2 separate regions of the Homo sapiens genome follow, and region 1 is linked to region 2. The links are contacts of gene promoters, found by promoter capture Hi-C in blood cells and fetal thymus (Javierre and others, 2016). All regions are on one chromosome and are shown on one strand. The core of a region is centred on a gene start or on the middle of the fragment in contact, and the rest is flanking DNA. Distances in the headings are between cores, read along the strand shown. Region 1 overlaps MTUS1 (microtubule associated scaffold protein 1). Region 2 holds the start of PDGFRL (platelet derived growth factor receptor like).

Region 1 (5,535 bases), core at 976-3,475, 120 kb after region 2:
GACTGCAAATAAACAGAAAATAGTTTTACGTAAGTTTAGAAAATAAAATGTGTCCAATACATCACTATCAACTAAACCCTGGTAATAGAAGCCTTGTGTCGTTTGCTTACGCTGTCTTGGAAAGCTATCTGCTTCACAACAACACTACAGACAACTTAGAATGTCTACTACTAGAGCACTGGTTAAGTAAATCATGACTTACCCAATAATGGAATGTTACAGAACTATTTTTTTTAATGAGGTAGATAAACATGTGATCACATGCAAATCTAAAACACATTAACTTTAAAAAGGTATAGAATATATAGTACGCTTTTATTTCTGTATAACAAAAAAGAATAAAAAAGACCTGCATAGATTTACATGTGACTGGAAACGTGCAAGAACACTATGCAAGCAGCTGAGAGCGGCTGTCTCCACGGAGAGCAGACAGGGACTCTGGGTAAGAGAGAGGCTTGCCTAGGACTGCACAACCTTCCATACTGTTTGATTTTTAACTTGGAGCGTGGATTACAGTATTTTTAAAAGAACTCTTTAAAATTAAAAGCTATTTGGAGCTACTTTAGATCAGACAAATTATTGCAAATATAGGGCACCCTTTGTTATTTTTCCCCCCTATTAATTTGTTCAGTTGGAAGGGCTGCAGCGGCCCTGAGCTGGGAGAGGAGGGCCACTGCTGACCTCCTCCTCGCTGCCTCCCCCCATTTACCGTCAGCTCAGACTGAAAGGGAGAGGCTGGCAAAATCAAATGACAGGTCAAGGGGAGTTATGAAACACGAGAGAGAGGTGCTGGAAAAAATGAGAATTCTCCCACAGAGAAGGGAGATGCCTCTGGGAAAACTAAAAATAGTCAGCTGAAAACAAATCACCAGGGACAGAGATGAGCCACGTGGAAAATAAGAAACACGAGGGGTCACGTGCACATGAAGCAGAAACAAAAATCTATTTACATCCTCATCAAACATTCCTGTGACACCTAACGCTATTCAGCCCAAAACAAATATAAAAACACCCCAGCTAACATATTTTACAGAATAAAACTGATTTAATTTACTGTAGCTGTAAAATCATCTAGGACAAAAGTAGCAACATAGGCCAACCCAATGCCCTAAAAGTGAGCAGACAGGTCACCACGTGCCTAAAATATATACTAAATTTATTTTCATCTTAGGCACCGAAAATAATAAGCAGATACAAACATAAACCTCAGGGGAAGTATTTTGAGACTGCACACACTTTTATTATGAAGATTGGAAAACTAGATTTGTGATTCACTTACTACTTCCCCATAACCATTAGGATGTTTTCTGTCAGAAGTGTTTAGTATACAGAAATCTTTTAGCATATTAAAATTAACTGTCAAATCTGACTGAGAAACTATCCAATGAAAAACGATGGGAACCTTCTCATCTACACAGGCGAACAGGAAATATTCTTCTAAATTTACCTGTGTCCTATTTCCCAAACACTGGAACTAAAATATAATTTAACAGGTGCTGATTTTCACACATTTGGCTGGTGATGGAGAAAAGAGCTAGGGAACACCAAGGCAACAATTCTGCCTTCCATCAACACAAACAACACAATCTGCTGCCAAAAGTAAAAGTACTATGCACTTGTGCTGAAGCAACAGAAAACAATTTTTAAATTAAGCCTCATCTCTCATTAGAGAGAGCTTTTTTCCTCCAATTATCTGTCTCCTTGGAAAAACCTCTGATAAACATCTGCAAATTAATGAAGACATCCCCCGTGCAACACTAAACAGAGATCTATGCGAGACAGACCTGTGTGGAAAACAACAGTGCTTCTCCTAAACCCTGAAGGAAGTCGAAGGTTTCGAAGCAATCCTTTGGCCGTCAGTCGTATGTGAATGGTGGATAAGGAGAATTTGGGAGACAACAACATGTCTTCGGAGCAGGTGGCGAGATTTCACAGAAGAGGCAATTTCCATGGACTGTCACATACTGTCTTTTTAAACTCAGTACTCTTCAAGGCCAAGAAATACAGTCAGAGGAAAGATGCCTACACAGCAAATGTCATTCCACCAGAGAGGCATAGAAGAAAAAAATCCCCCAGGGCTGGCCAAGTGTTTCTGGCTTCCGTTTTCACTTTCAGATGTTGCCAAAATGATGCTCTTCCTCTGAATACAATCTCCCTCCTGCAGGTCTAGAAGCTGCCTCTGAACCACATCACACTGTGCATGCTTGTGGAGTTGTTATGGTTTTCATCCGAGATGGTAAAGGGGAGGAGAAAGTGGGTGGTCTCAGGAGCTTTACAGAACAACCAATAATGTCACAGATCCTGTAACCACTTGAAAGATCGCTAGGGGAAATTAACTACTTCAAGTGCCTAATGTTTCTTTCATAATTAGAAAAAAATTAGGATTTCCTGAAAGTAAACTGTGTCCTGATTTTAACATTTTTCACTCCTTATATTCACAATGATAACATGAGCATTTTTTCTCTAGATATTTTACATGTAAACTACATTTAAACCTGGTATTTTGGAAAAGTTTTTTTTTTAAAGACTTCAGGCAATAAATGTTCTCAACTACAATATTTAAGAAAATTTCTATTCTAATATATTAATGACAGATTGTCAAAAGGTTAAAGTTCAACTTTAATTCCCACATGCTGAGGACCTCACAAATAATCAACAGTAAAAGATTAATACGGTTTCTCTATCAGATGTAATATCAGAGTTCCAGAAGAATAGTCCATCAGATAGGCATATTCTAAAGACTACATTTATTGCATGAGTAATTGCATTTATAGAACATCATGTGGTCTCTTATAGTGGTCTTTCAAGACTAGGAGTGTGAGGAGGGCACAGTTATGAATATCTTTTGCCAGTTATCTACTAATTTTTATTTCAGTAGAGTGGCTTGTAAAAGTATGTTAAAACATGATAGCAAAACCAAAAGAACTTGAAAAACAAAGATATGGTTATAAGAATTAACAACAACAATATGCCCACTTAAGCTAATTCCATTAAACCACGAATAGCCTGAGCTCTTAACATTTTTAAAAATGTTATAAACAAAACAATGTTTTAAAAATGTCCTATGCCTGTTTCCAAGATTTCCTAGAAAATAAGACTCAGAAATAAATGCAGAATTGTTACCATAAATAACACTATTAAGTGCTATTAAAACTAGCAGGAAGCAGTTCTTTTAGAAATTCTATAGAGTAGGGTATGAAGCAGGGAAGAGAGAGGGAGGAAGAGAAAATTTAAATAAGTTCTCTTCCCTCAAGCCCCCTCCCTCTTCACTCAAGCCCCCAACTTGCCATTTTAGAGGTTGTCAGCAAGAGAGACAGACCCAATAACCTGTCCAGGGTTCCTGTGAGAAAGATACACCTAGTTCATACACTGACGAAAAACCTGCTACATACATTGCACCACAGCAACTGAAGCTAAATGATCAAGGAATTAAAATCAAGGCCAGCTGCTTCTAGGTGTTGCCTTTTACTTCATCCCAGTTTATTATTAAAAAACCTGAACACCTTTTCCTTCCAGATTCTACATACTAAAAATATACCAGAACCTTTTCCTCTACCTCCCAAAACCTTGTAAAAACCAAGAAACCAATCAGCATTAAAAACAAACAGAAGAACAGAGTCAAATTTTGCCATGATTAAAAACAGACATGCCACCACTCCATATAGTAGGAGGTGGTTTTTCTTTCTTTTGGTTGTGTTTGTTGTTTCTTCAGTAACAGCAAATTCTAAATTATCCTTTTTTGTTTGTTTTTGTTTGTTTTTTGAGATGGAGTTTCACTCTTGTTGCCCAGGCTGGAGTGTAATGGCGCAGTCTCTGCTCACTGCAATCTCTGCCTCCCGGGTTCAAGTGATTCTCCTGCCTCAGCCTCCGTAGATGGGATTACAGGTGCCCGCCACCATGCCTGGCTAATTTTTGTATTTTTAGTAGAGATGAGTTTTCACCATGTTGGCCAGGCTCGTCTCGAACTCCTGACCTCAGGTGATCCACACACCTCGGCCTCCCAAGTGCTGGGATTACAGGGGTGAGCCACCACGCCCAGCCTTAAATTATCCTTGTTAAAAGGGAAGTTCTTTAGACTCCCTAAAAGAAGAAATTACCATCTAATCATCGATTAATCAGATTCATTAACATTTTTACTTGAATTACATTAAGCTATAACCACACATATTGAAAATAAACATTGTTAATGATATCTCTTAACAGCAGAGCAAGAAGCTGCAGGAATAAACTAAATTCAGTTCTTTCCCAAACATAGTCTGCCTCCTGGTGGCCGTGCAGCACAAGTGCACCAAAGCAAGGGAGCTGCCTTGGCAGTCCATAAACAAATGGCCATCGCTTACAATCTACTGCTCCAAGCACTCTCTTACACACTTTACGTTTGCTCATTTAAATAACTGGATAAGCAATTACTTTCAGGTCACAACTATTTTTATACTATATATGCCTCTGGGGGGAGCCAAGATAAAAAATTGGTTCCAAAAAATTCTTTGATTATTTGATCATCTGTTACCAGTTAGGAACTCCATATTTTCTGAAATTGAACGAATGTGAGAAGTACCTAAAAAAAGCATCTTTGTTATTTTTAAAAGTCTTAATTTAAGAGGAAAAGATAGGCATCACCAAGGACAGTAGAGGAAAAAATAAGGAAATTTTAGTGCCTAAAGTACAACAGTTTGTAGTTGTAAAAGTTAGCTATGAGTCTTTATGGGCCGGGCGCGGTGGTGAGATTACATGCCTGTAATCTCAGCACTTTGGGAGGCCAAGGCAGGTGGGATCACCTGAGGTCAGAAGTTCAAGACCAGCCTGGCCAACATGGTGAAACCCCGTCTCTACTAAAAACACAAAAAATTAGCTGGGCATGGTGACAGGGGCCTGTAATCCCAGCTACTCAGGAAGCTGAGGCAGGAGAACCGCTTGAATCTGGGAGATGGAGGTTGCAATCAGCAGAGATTGTGCCATTGCACTCCAGCCTGGGCAATAAGAGCAAAACTCCTCAAAAAAAAAAAAAAGATGAGTCTTTATGAAGCAGAGCCTGTGTTAGGATGTCAGTGGAAAACAAAAACATGATTTAAAATTTTATGCAATGTAGGATCTCAACATTAAACAAAAACGATTAAGTATATTGGAGCAAACATGCCAGAATGTCACCAATGCTCTGGGAGGTAGAAGAGGGAGGATTTCTATTTTTTCTTTATTATATGTTTTTGTATTTTCCTAATTTTTTTTTTCAAAAATCATGCAGCCAGAAAAAAATTAAAAAGTTTAAGTGTTAGAATAATTTTATAGAAAGCCTACAAAATGAGCCGAGTTTTCATAATGACACAAAGAAAAATAAACGATGTGTAAAGTCTATACTAAGGCTTAAATAACAAAAGAGGATGATACAGAATGTTTCATAAGTCAGTATGTTGTAATATCACAGTATATTCAAACAAACAGAAATTCCACTGGTCTGCATAGAAATGTGTTTTTTTAAATCAGTGATTTAGAAAACAATGATGTCATGATTCTAGACAAGAATCTAGCATAATCTGT
Region 2 (5,885 bases), core at 753-3,252:
CCAAGAAGAGCCTCTAAGCGGCAAGAGAAAGAGGGACGACTCTCGGCTAAATGTAGCTGAGCCAGGGCAGTGAAGCTTGACAATAATGGCACAAGAGAGGTGGACCTGGCACATGCATAGTCAGCATGGAGGGGATACTGCGACCGAGAGGAGGAATCTAGACCCAACCCCAGGCTCCAACATGGAGTGAGAGTTAAGCAGTCAATTCATGGGGTCAGAATGAAAAGAAATCTCACGGTGGGGCAATTTAGGCAGATTTACTCTCTCCTGTGTGCATGCTCCAAGTCCTTTGCTCAGAATTCTCCCCAGAACCTGACACACCACATTGCAGTGGTCTAAATGCTTGTTCACTCCTTAAAAGTAGCCATGAGAGATGATGTCTCAACCTTCATAGCCGTAATGTTAATCACATAGCAAACTCCTGTTGAAATAATCACCTAGTTCCCTTTCTTAATAAACAAGAGATGCTAAAACCCAGAAGGTTAAGTGAATTCTGAGAGGCATGGAGAGTTTGTGCCAGTGTCAGCATCTGAACTCTGGTCTTTATTCCCAGCCAACTGCTCTCTGCATCGCAAGGCAAGCGAGTGGCAAAGCTCCGGCTAGAGCTGGCAACAGAATATAGAATTCTTGGTTCCTCCTGCAGAAGTGACTGAGAAGCATTAGTTTGTTATAAATGGCAGCACTTCTTTCGTTGGGTGTTGAGGGACAAGTCCCTTTCCTGTTATTTAGAATTGAGCTCCCTTTAATAGCAGTGCCTGGTGCTGAAGATTACAATGAGATGGGCTGCTTCTCACCGGGGGAACACACACAGGCATCTCCCCCGCTAGCAAACTGCTTTGATCATGAGAGTCTGCAAGCTCAGAAACGCAGGATGGCTCTCTGCAGAGGGACTTGTGAAAGCCCGTATCTTCTGCCCCACTGTTACCTGATAGAGTTGTCCAGGTTCTTGGCCTGTTGAACAAAAAATTGAACGAAATGCACGGAGTAACGAAAGAAAGAAGCAAGGAAAAACAAAGCAACAGAAGGGAGGAAGGAAAACGTAGATTTATAGAAGACAATTCACAGAGGGCGCTGCAGCAAGCCACAAGAGCCTGACGCTCCCCAGGGATTTTATAAAGCGAAAAGAACTTGGCAACACCCTTGGGTTCCCTTTAGAGGCCTCCAACTGGTTACACCTTACGAAGGACTGGCCTGCGACCAGTCCGAGGCTGAAGTGGAAACTTCTGCCTTGTTATCAGAGGAGCGAGGATGTGGCCTGTGTGCCGCCTAATCATGCCTAGAACTGTCTGCACCTGCTGATCTTTTGCTTCTGCGAACTGGCTGCACCTGCTGTTCTCCTGCTCATACCCTAGCCCGTGCTTACCCTAATTCCCTGTTCTCCTGCCTCACCACCAGAGGCCCGGGTTGTCTGCACAGTCTCATTTTCCACGTTATTCCTGTAATGAACCCGTCCTCCCACCCCCACCAGCAGTTACAGGGCTGGGTGCGGAGACCAACTCTGGCCAGACACAGAGGAGCAGCAAGAACCCGGGGCAACGGTCCTGTGAGTGAGTGCATGTGGGGGAGAGAAATGGAATGAACAGAAATAATTTAGGAAGCACTTTTTACAGAGCACTCAGGTTCTGCCTGAGGAGGTGGGGCGGGCGCTGGTAACATTTGGACAATCGTGGTTAAAAGTGACCCCATCAGCACCCGCTGATCCTTCTTGAACTTGATAACCTTGGTGAAAACGCCAAGCGTTGGAGAAATTCAAGGAATGGCTGTTGTAATGTACATTTCACGCTTAGCCTTTCCTCCCCGCGCTGGGAAGAAGTGCTGCGCACCGCGGCTCCGCCAGGGGGCAGGAGAAGTCACATTACACAGAGAACTAAAAAAAAAAAAAATTCCCCAACTTTTTCCCCCAAACCTTGTTCCTCCTGAAGAAACCGAATCCTCCCGCTTCGGCGTCCCAGGAGCCCGCCCCTCGCCCGCCGCCTCCCCTGCGTCCCCGCCCCGCGCAGCCGCCGCGCTCCTGCGCTCCGAGGTCCGAGGTTCCCGAGATGAAGGTCTGGCTGCTGCTTGGTCTTCTGCTGGTGCACGAAGCGCTGGAGGATGGTGAGTGACTCTGGGCGCGGGGCCACCTAGCTTGTGCCCTGACTTTAGCCGGGACCCGAAGCCCCCGCCGCCCTCCTGCCAGCTCTTGGTCTAACGTTCGGCCCTCGGTGGCTCAGCCCCCGCGCCACTGCCTGCCCGGTGCACCTGCCCCCTCCTGGTGGGGTCTCCTTTCCTCCCACTCTTTGCCTGCCCGGAGAGCCCTCTAGGGGTGGTGGCAGCTACCCCGACCCTTAGGAGCCCACCAGGACCTCTCCAAGTCCCCATCTCCGGGCGAACCAAGCATCCCCAGCCAGCGCCTGGTCCAGCCCCCAGTGTCAACGTGTCGGTCTGGGAGGTGGGGCGGGAGCCTCGGATCGCTTCCACCTCCCAGCGGCGTGGCTGGGACCTCTGCTGCTGAGAGCGAGTGCCACCTAAGCTCGGCAATCGCTGATTCGGTTGCAGAGTTCCAGGTGACCTCCCCCTCCCCTCGCAGTTCTGGGCGTGTTTTCGTCTACCACCTTTTGCTTGAATCCTGCAAGATCTGCCTAGATCTTCGAACAAAAATGTCAGTGTATGAAACTTCAAAACGAATCAAAAGCCCACGGCTTATTATATTTATCTAATTGGATGGGAAATGGTGAAGAAAATGCATTTTTTTGGTACAGCTTATGGGACCATGACCGCTGCGCGTTTTTGAATGTGTACCTGTCCTGGGTCCACCCTGTCGTGTACACCCGTGACCACAGGGTCTGGTGTTATTTTTCTGTGTGTCTGGGTGTGTGTATTACTGTGGTGTGTATTATATATTATTGTTAGCATTTAAATGTTTTGTTTGCTCTATTCACTCCATGGGTGTTATTTGTACAGTACATGTTTCATCTGGGTGCCTCCTGGTGTCCTCAACCCTCTCTTGAAATTCCTGGGCTACAACACAATTTTTGCTTAGATTTAGTGGAAAAGTAGCTTTTGCTGTTATGCAACTTCATGCTGGAGCCAGCTCGACCTGGCTCACATTTTTATCCACTCGTTCATCCTGACCAGTTCCTTTCTTTCCTAGGAAACTACATTTGCCAAAAAAATACCGCATTGTAGTTTGCAAAATCCAAGATAGTCGTGGTACTTGAAGTTGAGCATGAGGGTCCTTCAGCCTAGAGCTTTGCTTAATAAAACGTAGGCAGAGCTTCTACTGGGAGAGTAACACTTAACTCTGCCCAGAGAGAAGTTGCCATGAGTTCAGTTTGTAAAATGCAATATTAAAATGCTCCTGGCAGGCCCTTGTGTGCAACCGCTGAAAAGGCAGAAATGTAATTTGTAGTATCATTTTTTGAATAGGGCAGGAGATGGCCAGGCAAAATAATTTCAAATCAGCCATTCCTTTGTTTATACCCAACTTGCCAGTCTTAGAGGCTCAGAAATTGACTTCCATTCTGCCTCCTGGATCTCACCCAGCCCATGTGAGTTTATTACAAACATCTGACTAAATTTACCCTTTCTTTAAGTGTAATCCATACAAACAATAAGCATTTATGAGACAATTGGAGAAAGTGGAATACAGACTGAATGTAAGAAATAGTTCATAAATTTTAGGTGATAATAGCACGAAGATTTTGTTTATAAAAGTACACACATCTGGCCGGGCACAGTGGCTCATGCCTGTAATCCCAGCACTTTGGGAGGCCAAGGCAGGTGGATCACAAGGTCAGGAGTTCAAGACCAGCCTGGCCAAGATGGTGAAACCCCGTCTCTACTAAAAATATAAAAATTAGCCGGGCGTGGTGGTGGGCACGTGTAATCCCAGCTACTTGGGAGGGTGAGGCAGAGAACTGCTTGAACCTGGGAGGCAGAGGTTGCAGTGAGCCGAGATCGCACCACTGCACTCCAGCTGGGCGACAAAGTGAGACTCCATCTCAAGAAAATAAAGATAAAAATAAAAGCACACATATCTATAATGTATGGACTATTTATGGATACAATAGTGAACACACAGTGCTTCATTAAGTTATGTAACCGTTTGGCTAAACCTATTAAGAATGGTTTTTGGTTTTGAGTTGTGTTGTGAGTTGTGGCCAGGAGCTACTAAGGAGAGTGGATTACACAGGAGGCCCTTCCAGTGCTGGTCTCAGATTGGCAGGTTGGGAATATCCTGCCTTCAAGGCCATCCCAAAGCACAAATTACAGACACAAGGTCCATGACTCAACTTGTTTCACTGCCTTTTAGTTTTTCTGATCACATCTAAAAGACAGTCTTTATTATTATTTTATTATTATTGTTATTATTATTATTATTATTATTATTATTGAGATGGAGTCTTGCTATGTCACCCAGGTGGAGTGCAGTGGCACAATCTTAGCTCACTGCGACTTCCACTTGTGCTAGCCACCACAACTAGCCAAAGACAGCCTTCTAAGAGGAAAAGACTTCCCTGCAAGTGTGTATGGGGGTGAACATCTGGCCTGTGACCCAATGAAGCTGGCTGCTCCCAATGACAAAATGCTTTAAATTTTTGGAAGTAATGTTCTTTCTCCTCATGAAGATGGGGAGCTGGAAAGGCACATAATACTTCATGGCATGAAACTGAGGGATGAAAACAGGTAATAAATAATCCAAGATTCCACGTTGAGATGTCAATCATAGCACCTGATTTTCAGCATTTATATGGAATACATGCCACCGAGTTTATTAATAGGGTGCTTCTATTTTCACATTGAAAAGTATAAAATCACAAATATTTCCTGACTTTTGATTACCTACATATTTTTATTGAATGTCAGGAGCAAACACTGAAGTGTTAATATTGATTTGTGCAACGAGTTCTGTTGAATAACATGAGATCCTTGATCCATGCTAATCTGGTCTTCAGTAACCTGGGTTTATTTTGCATCTGGTGAAAGGGGTTTCTTTCTTGGAGGACTACAGACATTCATTATTGTCTGAGAGCAATATAGCCAGATCTCTAAGAAGGTAAGGACAGAGACACAATGACGAGGATTCTCTAACCAAGAGCCTTTGACACTTTCGTGTCTTCGTTTATTTTTGAGAAAAAAAAAGAGTAAAAATTAGTACAGAAATATTTTAATGAAAAAAAGAATTCTAAAGTTCCTTATTGTTTATGAATGCACATAATGAATGCTTTGAAGCATTTAGGATCTTGGCTGGCATGTTTGACATACAAAACCATTTCTGATCCTTAAAACACAGAAAGAGAAAAGTTTGAGGGCAAGAGAGAGAGATCTGGTGGTCAGAGGACTGATGGTTTTCAAACCTAGACAAGGTTTTAAAACCCTTTCTTTGTGGTGCTCAATGAAGGGAGAGGAAAGATAAAGAAGTAAAGATACAATTTAAGGAAGTGGTAAGTGGCATCGAGAATCATGAATCAGGGTCTATTAGGTTCCTAGGGCTGCCATAACAAAGTACCACGGAATGGGAGGCTTTAAAACCGCAGAAGTTTGTTTGCTCACAGTCCAGAGGCTTGTAGTCCAAAGTCAGTGTCAGCAGCACCACACAGCTTCTAAGATGCGGGTAGAATCCTTCCCTGCCTCCACTAGCTTCTGGTTGTGGTCAGCAACCCCTTGGCATTTTTTTTAGCTTGTGGCCACATCACTCCAATCTCTGCCTCTGTTGCCATGTGACCATCTTCTCCCCGTGTCTGTCTTTACATGGCATTTTCATACGTGTGTGTGTGTGTGTCTCCTCATAAGAACATCAGTCCTATTGGAGGAGAGCCTACCCTAATGACCTCATGCTAACTTGATTACATTTGCAAAGACTCCATTCCTCAATGAGGTTACATTCACAGATACCTGGGAGTTAG

Evidence for each region. The method cuts DNA at HindIII sites, captures the fragments that hold promoters and counts their contacts. A CHiCAGO score of 5 or more calls a contact.
Region 1: a fragment that was not itself captured here is called in contact with the fragment with the promoter of PDGFRL in region 2 in 2 of 17 cell types (naive CD8 T cells and total CD4 T cells); the score reaches 6.3 in naive CD8 T cells.

What each region holds. Positions count from the first base shown.
Region 1 is chr8:17,695,473-17,701,007 of GRCh38, forward strand. The region is part of intron 6 of MTUS1 (microtubule associated scaffold protein 1); the gene reads right to left. Among named protein-coding and RNA genes, the nearest start is that of MIR548V, 17 kb to the left of the region's middle. The HindIII fragment of the contact is 8,441 bases long and covers 1-5,535 here.
Region 2 is chr8:17,575,214-17,581,098 of GRCh38, forward strand. PDGFRL (platelet derived growth factor receptor like) reads left to right here and starts at 2,003. Exons shown (of 6, transcript NM_001372073.1): 1 at 2,003-2,094. The coding sequence starts at 2,040. RefSeq lists silencers at 2,209-2,268, 2,359-2,408. The HindIII fragment of the contact is 7,010 bases long and covers 74-5,885 here.